3 separate regions of the Homo sapiens genome follow, and all the other regions are linked to region 1. The links are contacts of gene promoters, found by promoter capture Hi-C in blood cells and fetal thymus (Javierre and others, 2016). All regions are on one chromosome and are shown on one strand. Each heading gives the region's core, a stretch centred on a gene start or on the middle of the fragment in contact. The rest is flanking DNA. Distances are from core to core; before and after follow the strand shown. Region 1 holds the start of SGO1-AS1 (SGO1 antisense RNA 1). Region 2 overlaps KAT2B (lysine acetyltransferase 2B). Region 3 overlaps KAT2B (lysine acetyltransferase 2B).

Region 1 (2,534 bases), core at 35-2,534:
TTTTCTGGACATTTTTAAATGTACACAAAGATGGCAATAACAGTATAATAAACTCTGAGTTACCCAGGTCCAATAATTATCAACACTTTGACAATCATGTTTGATTTATTCTAACATCATTATAGCATTTTTGCTTTTTTTTTTTTTGAGACTGAGTTTCGCTCTTGTTGCCTAGGCTGGAGCGCAATGGCATGGTCTCGGCTCACTGCAACCTCTGTTTCCTGGGTACAAGCAATTCTTTTTCTCCTGCCTCAGCCTCCCGAGTAGCTGGGATTACCGGCACATACCACCAGGCCTGGCTCATTTTTTTGTATTTTTAGTAGAGATGGGGTTTCACCATGTTGGCCAGGCTGGTCTTGGACTCCTGACCTCAGGTGATCCGCCCACCTCAGCCTCCCAAAGTGCTGGGATTACAGGCGTGAGCCAACCCGCCCGGCTTACAGCATATTTTTAAAAAAGATACTTGCCTGCTACCACTGACTAACTGGCCGATTTAGAAAGTTGGTTTGGTTTTTAAGGTTTTAATCTCCTTACAAACAAAATAAGCATCATAACACCTATACTTCACAGAATTGTTCTGAGGATCAAATAAAATGATGTGACAATATTTTGAAAATGATACAACTTGACTATAAATGTTAGTTTTACTTGTATTAACTAAAATTGCCAAATGAGAATCTTTGTGGACAGGTGTAGGTTGTATTACGAACATTTGAACTATGCCTACTTTTGATCTAATAAAATATTTTCTGAGCCAGTTTTTAGAGATGTCGTACAAAAGAATACTAAGCCTATCAATTGAGGAAATCTTCACTAACTAGAAGATTATTTTAAATCACGGTTCCTGTCAAATTTAATATAAAACAAGGCCATTAAAATAACAAGTCACTGGATTCAAATTTGATTTCACTTTCAAGGGGATACTTCAGTTAAGTGTATAAAAGCTACTTCAATTCAACCTAAGTCTACAAAAAAGTCCCTCTGTCCCCTTGGGAGTCCTAATTTACTGAAAATAAAAATTCTGTCTCCATAACAAGCAATCTCTGAATTAGGTCAGAGCAATACAACTGTGATTTCCACACCCAGCCCCCCACTGTTTAATCAGACCATAACTTCCACCAAAGAGAGACAGATGGTAAGTCTCCAACCTCCACCAGAGAAACAGATGGTAAGTATAGTATATAAGCATCAGGAGTGATCATTTATCACGAACATTAAAAATACAGGTAAACAAGTAGATCACTTACTGGTAGGAGTTTTTGTTGGCTTAGAACCCTCCGTCTCTTTTTCATCTGTGTATTTCAGTGCTCTTTTAGCTAGAGGCCTGGTGACTGGTCTATCTGAATTGCTCGTGGGATTCTGAATGTACTTGCAAGTGGGCAAATAGAGGTCATCGGAATCATCTCCTGAACCACTTGATTCACAGAGGCTCACTTCAGACTCGTTGTTTTCTTCTCTATTAGAGTCATTGCTCACTTTTTGTCGGAAAGGAGTAAGATGAACACCCTCTTCCAAATTAAAATTGTAAGCATCATTGGAACTGACAGATTTGTGCATTTTTTTTTGGGGAACAGTTTTTTTATTTTCGCTTTTATTCTCTTTATATTTTGACATACGTTTTGATTTTCTCCTGTTAGCTTTTCTTTTCTCTTCTCTTTTTCTTTCTTGTGTATCTCTTTGCTTACTTTTAGTTTGTTCAGATTTAGATTCTAAAATGTCTTCTTTTGTTTTAGTAAACGTTCCTGGCTGAATCAGCTTTGGTGATAAGTTAACTTGGTCCTTGCTCCATTGACAAGCATTGTGTTGTACATTTTCAGGTATGTGCATGTTTACTAGTGGGTCTAAAAATCCAACTCTTTCGAATTCAAAAGACTTCCCTGCCAAATGACTGGTTTCAAAATCATCCAAGCTATCAAACTGACATATACTGTTACAATGTTTCTTTAAACTGCTACGAACAGATACAGTTCTAGGTAAGACATTATCAGTAGACTTAGCTTCACCTGAATCAAAATCAACTCCCAGTGTGTCTTGAGGAATAGTAGGTATCTGATCTGAGAATTTAAAAAATAAATGAGAAAAGTAGTTTTACTTTGTGGAAATTTGAATTTCAAGAACTTTAGAATTCAAACTAAAAAAGTGAATGACCAAAAGGTCATTCTGTAGTTTTCCTACATTATAAAATCTGTAAATAAAAACCTGGGAACTTAAATATTACCATCTATTTACTTGTCAGTGATCAACTGATGGCTTATATCTGACATGTGAAAGAATCTTGTACAGGTTCAGTATCCCTAATCTGAAAATCTGAAATCCAAAACTTTTTTAGTGCAGTCATGATGCTCCAAGGAAATGCTAACTGGAGGGTTTTGGATTTCAGATTTTCAAATTAGGGATGATGAACTGATATAATGTAAATACTCCAAAATTTAAAAAATAAATCCAAAACACTTCTGGTCCCAAGCATTTTGGATAAGGGACATTCAATCTTTATAATCTTTAAAAACATTATAGGCCAGGCACGGTGGCTTACG
Region 2 (5,141 bases), core at 1,033-3,532, 92 kb before region 1:
TTGGTATAAGTTATGTCTCCCTGACGTCCTCTGGTCATGAAATCCTGTTTGATACTCCCTTCAAGTTCCTGCCTCTAGCACTGGCTGAATTTAGGCTTTTCCTCATTATTCCTTGCCTGTGTCTGCTGCAGCTTCTGGAGTTCTTATTTCCATTCCTGCATACCTGGCTTTCCCATAAAGTGATGATACAATGTGATCCCATTCTCCTGCTTAACCCCTCTGAGCTTCTCATTATCCTCAGAGTGAAGGGTGATCTGTAGTTGAGCAAGCAGGTTCAGTTCATTGAGGCCTCTTTATTTTCAAAGCTTTTCTCCAATTATCTTCATTGCATTTTGGCCATCAGGCTGCTCCATGTTCTCCAAAGGTTCTTTGAACTTTCTCCCACCTCTGCCTTAGATCTGGAAGCTCACACCACCTTCAATGCCTTTCCTTCATTTTCTGCCAGGGAATTCTGCTTATCCTCCAAGGCTTGACTGCAGAACTCTGTAGAGAGAATAAAGGCCTTCTTAGAGCTCTGTGGCAATGTTCCTTCTTATATAACTATAATTATATACCAATCTGTACTGAACTGTGATTAAGAGTTGACTTTTTCTCTAGTTTGTAATATATTTAGTTCGTTGTGCATAATTGTGCTTATTCTTTTGTTGGTAAATAGTCATTGAATTCAATAATGGTAAAATGAGGGCTGGTTGCATATATTTGCAGAGGAGCTTTCAAAGTTTATAATCTATACCTGCTGTGTCCAACACAGTAGCCACTAGCCATGTGTGGCTATTGAACACTTGCAATTTCACTAGTTTGAATTGTGCTGTAAGCGTGAAATGCACACAGGTTTTGAAGACTTAGTACAAGAAGAGGAATGTAAATAGTAACTTTTAATATTGCATACGTATTGAAAGAATAATACTTTGGTATATATTAGGTTAAATAAAATATATTATTTAATGAATTTCACCTGCTTCTTTTGTCTTTTTAAACACAGCTACTGGAATACTTAAATTTACATATGTGGCTTGCATTATATTTCTACTGGACTGCTCTCATCTAATGGGCTCTTACTCTTAGGCTTCTCTTTTTTTTCATTCCAGATCTGAGATTACAGAAAATGAAACCACTTTTAAATGATAAGCCTTTTGCACATTAGTCAATTTGACAGATTTCATTGTAGTCATTAATTTTACCTCTTCTAGCCTCGATGCCAAATTCCCATGAACAAAAAATGTATTTGAGCAGCCTTCAAATCCTATTGTGTTATTTGCTTCTGGTCCAGAGGAGCAGGGACATGTTAGCTGCCTGCCCAGCTGCTGCCTGTTCACACTGCAGGGCATGTGAGGACTGGCTGACTGTCTTCACGAGAAGTGCAGGCCAATGATACACGGAGCCAGAGGTTAGTGAGGGTCACGGCACACAGTGACAGTGTGCTTCCTGTTCTCAGCAAGGTTGACAGCTGCACCGTGATTCTTGGCAGCAGTCACACGGCGGGTCACTCTCTGGCACCCTGGGTGTTTGCAAGTCTGACACAGCACTGAGAGGTGCCAAGGTATACCCTTCTGGAGTGATCTAAAGAAGGCAAAGCCTCCCCTCGTCCCCTCACTTGCACCTTCTGTCTGCTTTCTTGTGCCCTTCACACAAAGTGGACACTGGGGGAACTGTGGCCCACCAAAAGGAATAAACTTTGCCACAGCTCAAGGGTTGGTCAATCTTGGGTAATTAGTGTATATCAATGCTTTGTATCAGGCTCTTGGAAGACTATTTAAAGTAAAAGCAGGATTCTTTAATGATCAAATTCAGGTGGAGGAAAGATTGTAAAAACACTTTTAATTTGCAAATAATTAAAAATTTACATAAAAGTCATGAGAATAATAACGAAGAATATCCCATAAATCCTTTCCCTAGATTTACCTATTAGTAACATTTTATTTTATTTGCTGTCATTGGCTCATATATATATATGTATAAATGTATATAGAGAGTCTCATATATATATATATATGAGTCTCTACGTATAAATTTGTTTTTCTGGAACTATATGAGAATAAGTTACTTATATATCATAGCCCTTCCTCCCCTAAATATTTCAATATACAGTTCCTAATAATAAGGTTTTCTTTTTTTGAAATGGAGACCCACTCTGTTGCTCAGGCTGGAGTGCAATGGTGCAGTCTTGGCTTACTGCAGCCTCCACCTCCTGGGTTCAAATGATTCTCATGCCTCAGCCTCCCAAGTAGCTGGGATTACAGATGCCTGCCACCATGCCCAGCTAATTTTTTTATTTTTAGTAGAGATGGGGTTTCATCATGTTGGCCAGGCTGGTCTCGAACTACTGACCTCAAATGATCCGCCCTCCTCAGCCTCCCAGAGTGTTGGGATTACAGGCTTGAGCCACTGCACCCGGCCACGGTTTTCTCTTAATAACCTCAGTTCAATTACCAACTTTAGTAAATTTAACATTAATATAATACCTTTATCTAATCTACTGTTTGTATTCTAATTTTATCTGTTGACCCAAAAATGTTCTTTATAACATATTTTCCTTTCCATTAAGCCTCCACTCAAGAATCACATATCTGTTTAGTTGTCATGTCTCTTTAGTTTTCTTTAATCTGGAGTTCCTCAGCATTTTATTTTATTTGTTGACTTTTATAACATTGACATTTTGATGGAGGAATGTTTTAAATTTTAAAAACAAACTCTTTAAAGAGCTAGGAAAAATACATTTTTTGTTATTTTTTGTTTATGTAGGAAAAACCTTTGCAAGCAAAACCTTAAAGAACTGCCAACGTAGATATGGCTTTCTAAAAAGATTAACATTTTTCTACAACCAAACCAAATAAACCAAAAATCCCTCCCCACCAAATACGTAAGCATTTGCAATGAGTATGGCAGACTAAAGGTAGTACATAAGGTTTATTCAAGGTGGTAAGAAAAAGACTAACATCTTAAAAACCAAGCAAAGGAACTCAAATTGGCAGGTACACAGGAGATCAAATACAAACAGCCAGTAGTATGAAAAACAAACAACTCCCTGGGCCTTCCGTTGAATGCAGATCAAAACAGTAGGGGGTGCTTATTAATTTTCAAAAGATTGGTTAAATTACCGAGGATGGTTCTCCACTGTAGGCAGAGCACAGGAAAAAGGAATAGTCTCTCACTACTGATACAGTGTACATTGATGCACATCTTGATGAGGGAGGTTAAATTAGGGAGCGATACATCAAAGTTTTACATAGCAGCGACTTCATATCTTGAGTTTTGTGGCAGGTTGACTGCTATAGATTTGTGCATTGTAGTTTATAGATTTTTATTTTATTTTTTAGTTTTTAATAATATGCTCCTAGACTCATAAATAATAGAGGCCTATCTCTTTAAGAAAACATACTTTTAGATAATTGAAGGGAGCCTATTTGCATCAAAAAGTCTTCTTAATAAAAGGTTAAGAGAAGGGTTTCTTTTAATAATGAATGACTCTTTTTGGTTTAATATGAATTGATTGTCAGTATAGTAAATAGTTTAGCTTTGCAGTTAGAGTGAGGTTCACCTGGGTGTTGACATGGGTTGGGATTAATTAGGAGACTGGTAAATCTAGAGATAAGTTAAACAAGTCTAATTCTGGTCAGCATCCCCAAAGAGCCAGGAGTAGTCTCTGGATCTGGTAGAGATGGGGTTGTTTAAGGAAAGTGGTATTTTAGGAAGACTACCCTGGCAGCAGAGAGAACAGTCTAGGGGGCTATTTTATTATAGTAGGTTTGACATTCCAATGGAAGAAAGGTAGGATGGGGAAATGCAGTGTCTCTGAGAGAGAATGAGGAAGCTCAGTGGAGTCTGGTGGCTGGTAATGTGTGGAAGGTAAAGGACACTAAAGGAATGAATGATGGGCTTGTTGGCAGAAACAGGGCCAGCAAGAGGTAGCTGCCATTTTGAGGAGGGCCATGAGGAGTTCAGTCTTTGAGTCATTTTCCGTGATGGTGGTGCACCTATTTTGTTGGGATAGGGAGGATGGAAGGTGGGGTTCGGGGAAGATTGGAGCTGGAGAAGAGGTTAGCTGGTGATGTGTATTTGTTGAGAACAGAAAGTTCAGCGCTACTTCCTCAGAGATTGAGTTAGGTGAGAGCTGAAAAGGATTTTTGGTCAAAAGGGATCTGTAGTTGGCCTCCTTGGAGAGGGGCTACATTGGAGGGTCTGAGAAGTTGGCACATTTAGACAACTACGTATTTATATAGTGTAGTCATAGCTGTTCTTGTCTGGCTTTCTTATTACAGGGAAGCTTCTCTTTGATAACAACTTGTCTGGACCTTTTTCCACCCTTCTCCAGCAGACTGTCCACTCCATCTACTTTCATTTGATCTTCCTCCACCTCATTGTTTATTCTAGGAAGCTTAACCTTTCTCATACAATATTCTCCTGCTTCAGTGCTCCCCCTACCACTCCAGACCTGCGTTTATTTCATTCTCAGAGTAAGAGCTATCCTCTTCTGCTATGAAAGTTACTCACCCTTTGTACAGGGGAGCCTCTTTCTTCTCTTCTGGGAAACTGTTGCTGCTTTATTTACATTTTCCCCCATCTCCATCTCCCTATTCCTTTCTACTTTGGGTTTCATACAGAGCTCTGAGGAGAGATCACATATTGCATTATGGTAATAAATAAATAAATAATTAATAAATGCAAAAAAAAATCACAAAACCACAAGCACATTTCATTATGGGCAGAGTCAGAGGGAAATGAGCCTCCTCAGGTTTCACTTAAGCATTTTAATTTTTATCAGGCTACTCTTCAAAATATGCAAAAAGTTGGTTCTAAACAGTGGTTTTAAAGCTGCAGAATCCCAACAAGGGAATGGGATGGGTTCTTGAGCCTTCTAAAAATAGAAGCTTTCACCTCTATTTCATCCAGAGCAACTCCTTCTAATTCTGATTAGTAATTAATTTTGGTAAAGTGTTTTGGGGCTTTGAAAAAGTAAGCTACTATTTCAAAAGTAAATCATGGCATGTACTTCCATGAGTTAAACCTACTATATGTAGCACCTTAATTAGATGGTTTCATATTATGGAGCATCTGAAGGAATTTACTTGATATTGTATACTGATTGCTTTCATAGCTTATCACAAAAAGAGATTAAAAGTTTGTAAGACAGGCCAGATGCA
Region 3 (5,141 bases), core at 961-3,460, 65 kb before region 1:
GAATTTTATGTGTATATATATATATATATGTATATATATATATATATATATATATATATATATATATTTTTTTTTTTTTTTTTTTTTTTTTTTTTTTTTTTGAGACGGAGTCTTGCTGTGTCTCCCAGGCTGGGGTGCAGTGGTGCAATCTTGGCTCACTGCAACCTCCACCTCCTGGGTTCAAGCCATTCCCGTCTCTGCCTCCCGAGTAGCTGGGATTACAGGCATGCGCCACCACAGCTGGCTCATTTTTGTATTTTTAGTAGAGACGGCGTTTCACCATGTTGGCCAGGCTGATCTCGAACTCCTGACCTTAAGTAATCTGCCCTCCTCGGCCTCCCAAAGTGCTGGGATTATAGGCATGAGCCACCAGACCTGGCCAATAATATATATATTTTTTACCCAATATATAAAAAATGCCATTTCAGCTGGGAGCGGTGGCCCACGCCAGTAATCCTAGCACTTTGGGAGGCCAAGGCGGATGGATCACTTGACGTCAGGAGTTCAAGACCAGCCTGGCCAACATGGTGAAACCCTGTCTCTATTAAAAATACAAAAATTAGCCAGGCATGGTGGCGGGCACCTGTAATCCCAGCTACTTGGGAGGCTGGGGCAGGAGAGTTGCTTGAATGGGGAGGTGGAAGTTGCAGTGAGTCGAGATCATGCCATTGCCCTCCAGCCTGGGGCACAGAGCAATACTATGTCTCAAAAAAAAAAAAAAAACCACAAAAACAAAAAACCCACAAAAATATAATTTCACCATGTAACCATTGTGAAAAATTATTAAGGATGTATACTTACTTTCTTAGTACTGAGTCCTTCAAACCTCCAAATCCAGTGTTTATTTTGCTTTTTCCTTTTTTTTTTTTTTTTTTTTGAGTTGGAGTCTTGCTGTGTTTCCCAGGCTGGAGTGCAGTGGTATGATCTGAGCTCACTGCAACCTTCGCCTCCCAGGTTCAAACGATTCTCCTGCCTCAGGCTGCCAAGTAGCTGGGACTACAGGCGCCTGCCACCATGCCTGGCTAATGTTTATATTTTTTAGTAGAGATGGGGTTTCATCATGTTCCCCAGGCTGGTCTTGAATTCTTGACCTCCGGTAATCCACCTGCCTCAACTTCCCAAAGTCCTGGGATTACAGGTGTGAGCCACTGCACCCGGCCAAATCCAGTGTGTATTTTTCACACATCTTAATTCAGTAGCTAAATTTTAAACAATTAAAACTAAATGGAGTCCTACTAGAACAATCAAGTTGTGTTTAATGGGAAAACATTTTACACTGTTTCCATTTAAAAGTAAAATTGAAATTGATTAAATAAAATTAAAAGTTAAACTCAGTCATACTAGCCACATTTCAAGTGCTCAATAGTTACCAATGGCTGGTGGCTACTGTATTGGATAGCAGAGACATAGAATCATCCCCATCATCAGTGAAAGCTTTATTGGACAATAAATCTTTAAACCTTTCATTGCAGAAGATTGGACATATTTTGTTATTTTTAAAATTTAGGATCTGCATAACAACATTTTAGTCAGCAATGGACCACATATAATGACAGTAGTCCTTTAAGATTATGCCAAAATTTTGCTGTACCTTTCCATGTTTAGGTATATTTAGATATACAAATACTTACCATTATGTTACAGTCGTTTGTAGTATTCAGTACAGTAATATGCTGTAGAGGTTTGCAGCCTAAGAGCAATAGACTAGACCATAGAGCAGGGGTCCCCCACCCCTGGGCCATGGTCCACCATAGGTCCGTGGCTCATTAGGAACCGGGCTGCACAGCAGGAAGTGAGTGGTGGGCGAGTGAGCATTACAGCCTGAGCTCCACCTCCTGTCAGATCAGTGGTGGCATTAGATTCTCATAGGAGCCTGAACTCTATTGTGAACTGTGCATGTGAGGGATCTAAGCTGTACATTCTTTCTGAGAGTCTAATGCTTGATGATCTGAGGTGGAACAGTTTCATCTGGAAACCATCCCTTCTACCCCCAGCCATGGAAAAATTGTCTCTCATGAAAGCAATCCCTGGTGCCAAAAAAGTTGGGGACCTCTGCCATAGAGCCTAGGTGCCAAGTGTGTAGTAGGTTCTACCATCTAGGTTTGTGTAGGTACACTCTCCAGTGTTTGCACAATGATAAAATCACCTGACTCATTTCTCAGAATGTATTCCCGTTGTTAAGCAAGACATGAAAGACATGACCATATTAATTCTTACAGATAGTCTTGTGATTGCCTAAGTCTCACGAAATTGAACTTCTGATTATGAAGATCTGTGACTGTTTAACTCTATGGTTTCATTACTAGTTATTTGATCTGACTTCCCCTCAGCCCCAGATAGATAGATAGATAGATAGATAGATAGATAGATAGATAGCATGTCAGTGTCTCATTCTGTCACTCTGTCACCCAGGCTGCATTGCAGTGGCACAATCATAGCTCACAGCAGCCTAGAACTCCTAGGTTCAAGTGATCCTACCTCCTCAGCCTCCCAAGTAGCTAGGAATATAGGTATGTGCCAATACATCTGGCTGATTTTTAAACTTTTTGTAGAGATGGGCGTCTTACTATGTTGCCCAGGCTGGTCTTGAACTCCTGGGCTCAAGCGATCTTCCTGCTTGGGCCTTCCAAAGCACTGGGATGACTGGTGTAAGCCACCATGCCATGCCTAGCCAGCCCATTCTTTTAACTTAATTAAGTGGCCACAGACTAACATCTAGCAAACAATTGGCTTTGAAAGCAATGAATTTCTATATGAAGCACCTTATGAATTACAAAATAAATGCACTTTATAATTTTTTTCTGCTACCAAGATCACTGTTTCAGACAAAAGACAACATTAACACTTAAGATACCCATTTCAGTATTGTAAACATAAACAACATTTGGGTGTAAATTATTAAAGGAAAAAAGTTGAGAGAAGACATAGAAATAGTAGCAGAAATTTTAGGTTAATTTTTAATGTAGGCAGATGAACTAACACTAATGAAAGCTTTTTCTCCAAAGGTGAACCACTGCCACAGCCACCACCATTTCCACCACTAGCACACATACAGGCAAAATATTTTATAATGCAGAATAAGATTTAAAAAAAAAAGTCAGGAGCATGAATAAATTAATATTATTCCTCTCTTCATTAAAGGGCTCAAAGTTCATTGGGAGCTTTTTGTAGCAGCTTGGGCGCATTAGAAAGCTGTCTCCCATTTGAAAGGAGAACAGGAAAGCACATAGGGAGGAGAGGTTTGATTTTTGGAAGGCAGTCCTTTCCTAGAAGAGGATGATTTGGGTCTGCTCTGAAGGAATAAGAATCTGTGGAATAATGCTTTTTGACCTTTTCCTCGTTTGGTGCCACCCTCCATGGCTACCACTGTTATATTTATGTTTTTGGGTCCTGGGAAATTCACATCTTCACTTCTGGGAGATAAAAAAAAAATAGGGTTGTCTCAGTTTGGTAGCTCATGCCTGTAATCACAGCACTTTGGGAAGCCGAGGTGGGTGGATCTCTTTAGTCCAGGAGTTCGAGACAATCCTGGGCAACATAGTGAAACCCCGTCTTTACAAAAAATAAGAAAAAATTAGCCACATGTGGTGGTGCATGCCTGTGGTCCCAGTTGTTTGGCAGGCTGAGGTAGGAGGGTCACTTGAGCCCAGGAGGTAGAGGTTGCAGTGAGCCGAGATTGTACCACTGCACTCCAGCCTTGGTGACACAGTGAGACCCTGTCTCAAAAAAAAAAAAAAAAAAAGAAAGAAAAAGAAAGAAAAAGAGGTTTATTTTTGAATAGACTTTTACTCTCCACTGTATGTTGGCCGAATGCACTTTCTAAATTAGATGACCTGTATTGTCAGTGTACCCTAGAACTGTGGTCACATCTCAAGAAAAGTCCTGGCTTCCCTCTGGTCTGGGTCCTCCTCCAGCGTCGTGCAGTGATGCTGAGGTGCATTTTTGACTTTGAGTCTGAGTCGTTGAAAAATGTACCTAGGCGACAAATGGTAGAAGCTTAATACTTCCTACATTTTTGACTGAGTTTTAAACAGTCCTGAAGATCATTATCTTCCCACCAAACCTCCGATAAGTGCTGTGTAGGCATTTTAAATAAATCTTACATTTTACTCAAAGGACTAGGTGGTTAATTCTGATTCTTTCACAAAAGGGTCTTCCTCAGCTTCTCCTTTAATTTTTTCTTTTATCTAAACTACCATTAATGTGCCAGTAACTCCAGTTATACTATGCATTTTATATACAGTATTTCATTTAATGCTCACAAGAACCCAATGAAGTAGGTATTATTGTTGTCCCCATTTTACAGGTAAGGAAGGAAAGGCTAAATAGCGTAATCAAATTTTCAAAGTTATGCAGCTAGTTAAGTGACACAGCTGGAATTTGATCCCAGGGGCTGTTTCATTCCAGGACTCACTGTATGATGCTGCAGAATAAGGTGATTTTAACAGAATTAGACACAAGTGGTGATGTAAGGGTAATCTAATTGCATTCCCAAGTTTCACTAGCTGGCAGGGATATTGTTGCTTGTTATTGCAGGCCTAGTTTTTTTCTGCTATAGTTAATAGTACGAGATAAACATAATTGAATATTTCTGATGACCTGGGGGTTTATGGGATATTGATGGTGCTTGACTTCTCTTGTCACAGGTGGCTGTGTTACTGCAACGTGCCACAGTTCTGCGACAGTCTACCTCGGTACGAAACCACACAGGTGTTTGGGAGAACATTGCTTCGCTCGGTCTTCACTGTTATGAGGCGACAACTCCTGGAACAAGCAAGACAGGAAAAAGATAAACTGCCTCTTGAAAAACGAACTCTAATCCTCACTCATTTCCCAAAGTAAGGGAGAGTTTTTGCTGGTCTTTGTTTGATCCCAGAGCTTGAGGTTGCTAAATACAATGCCAAAGCCTGCATAAATAACAAGATCGGAAATGACAGAAGAAACATTCCAAGGGGATGGGAGAAAAGACCCTCAGTTCCCTTTGTGAATCTTCTTGGGTATTTTCCAGTCCATTTATTAGCCTGACTTTGGGTTGACTGCCGTCATTGCTCCCTTATCCCCTCCTCGTCCTACCTGAGTCATTGTCTCTGACTCACATAGAATGGGGCAGTGCTTTCTTTTGTATATTCAGCGGCCAGGAA

What was found. Contacts are between HindIII fragments. The CHiCAGO score rates a contact against its expected background, and 5 or more counts as called.
Region 2: a contact is called between a fragment that was not itself captured here and the fragment with the promoter of SGO1-AS1 in region 1, in 1 of 17 cell types (neutrophils). The highest score is 5.3, in neutrophils.
Region 3: a fragment that was not itself captured here is called in contact with the fragment with the promoter of SGO1-AS1 in region 1 in 1 of 17 cell types (total CD4 T cells); the score reaches 5.2 in total CD4 T cells.

Annotation. Positions count from the first base shown.
Region 1 is chr3:20,173,002-20,175,535 of GRCh38, forward strand. It overlaps SGO1-AS1 (SGO1 antisense RNA 1), which reads left to right and starts at 1,285. Exons shown (of 4, transcript NR_132785.1): 1 at 1,285-1,524; 2 at 1,734-1,817. SGO1 (shugoshin 1) reads right to left here. Exons shown (of 8, transcript NM_001199251.3): 6 at 1,248-2,054. The HindIII fragment of the contact is 5,926 bases long and covers 1-2,534 here.
Region 2 is chr3:20,079,938-20,085,078 of GRCh38, forward strand. The region is part of intron 2 of KAT2B (lysine acetyltransferase 2B); the gene reads left to right. Among named protein-coding and RNA genes, the nearest start is that of KAT2B, 42 kb to the left of the region's middle. The HindIII fragment of the contact is 3,959 bases long and covers 304-4,262 here.
Region 3 is chr3:20,106,950-20,112,090 of GRCh38, forward strand. It overlaps KAT2B (lysine acetyltransferase 2B), which reads left to right. Exons shown (of 18, transcript NM_003884.5): 6 at 4,647-4,838. Among named protein-coding and RNA genes, the nearest start is that of MIR3135A, 28 kb to the right of the region's middle. The HindIII fragment of the contact is 1,557 bases long and covers 1,433-2,989 here.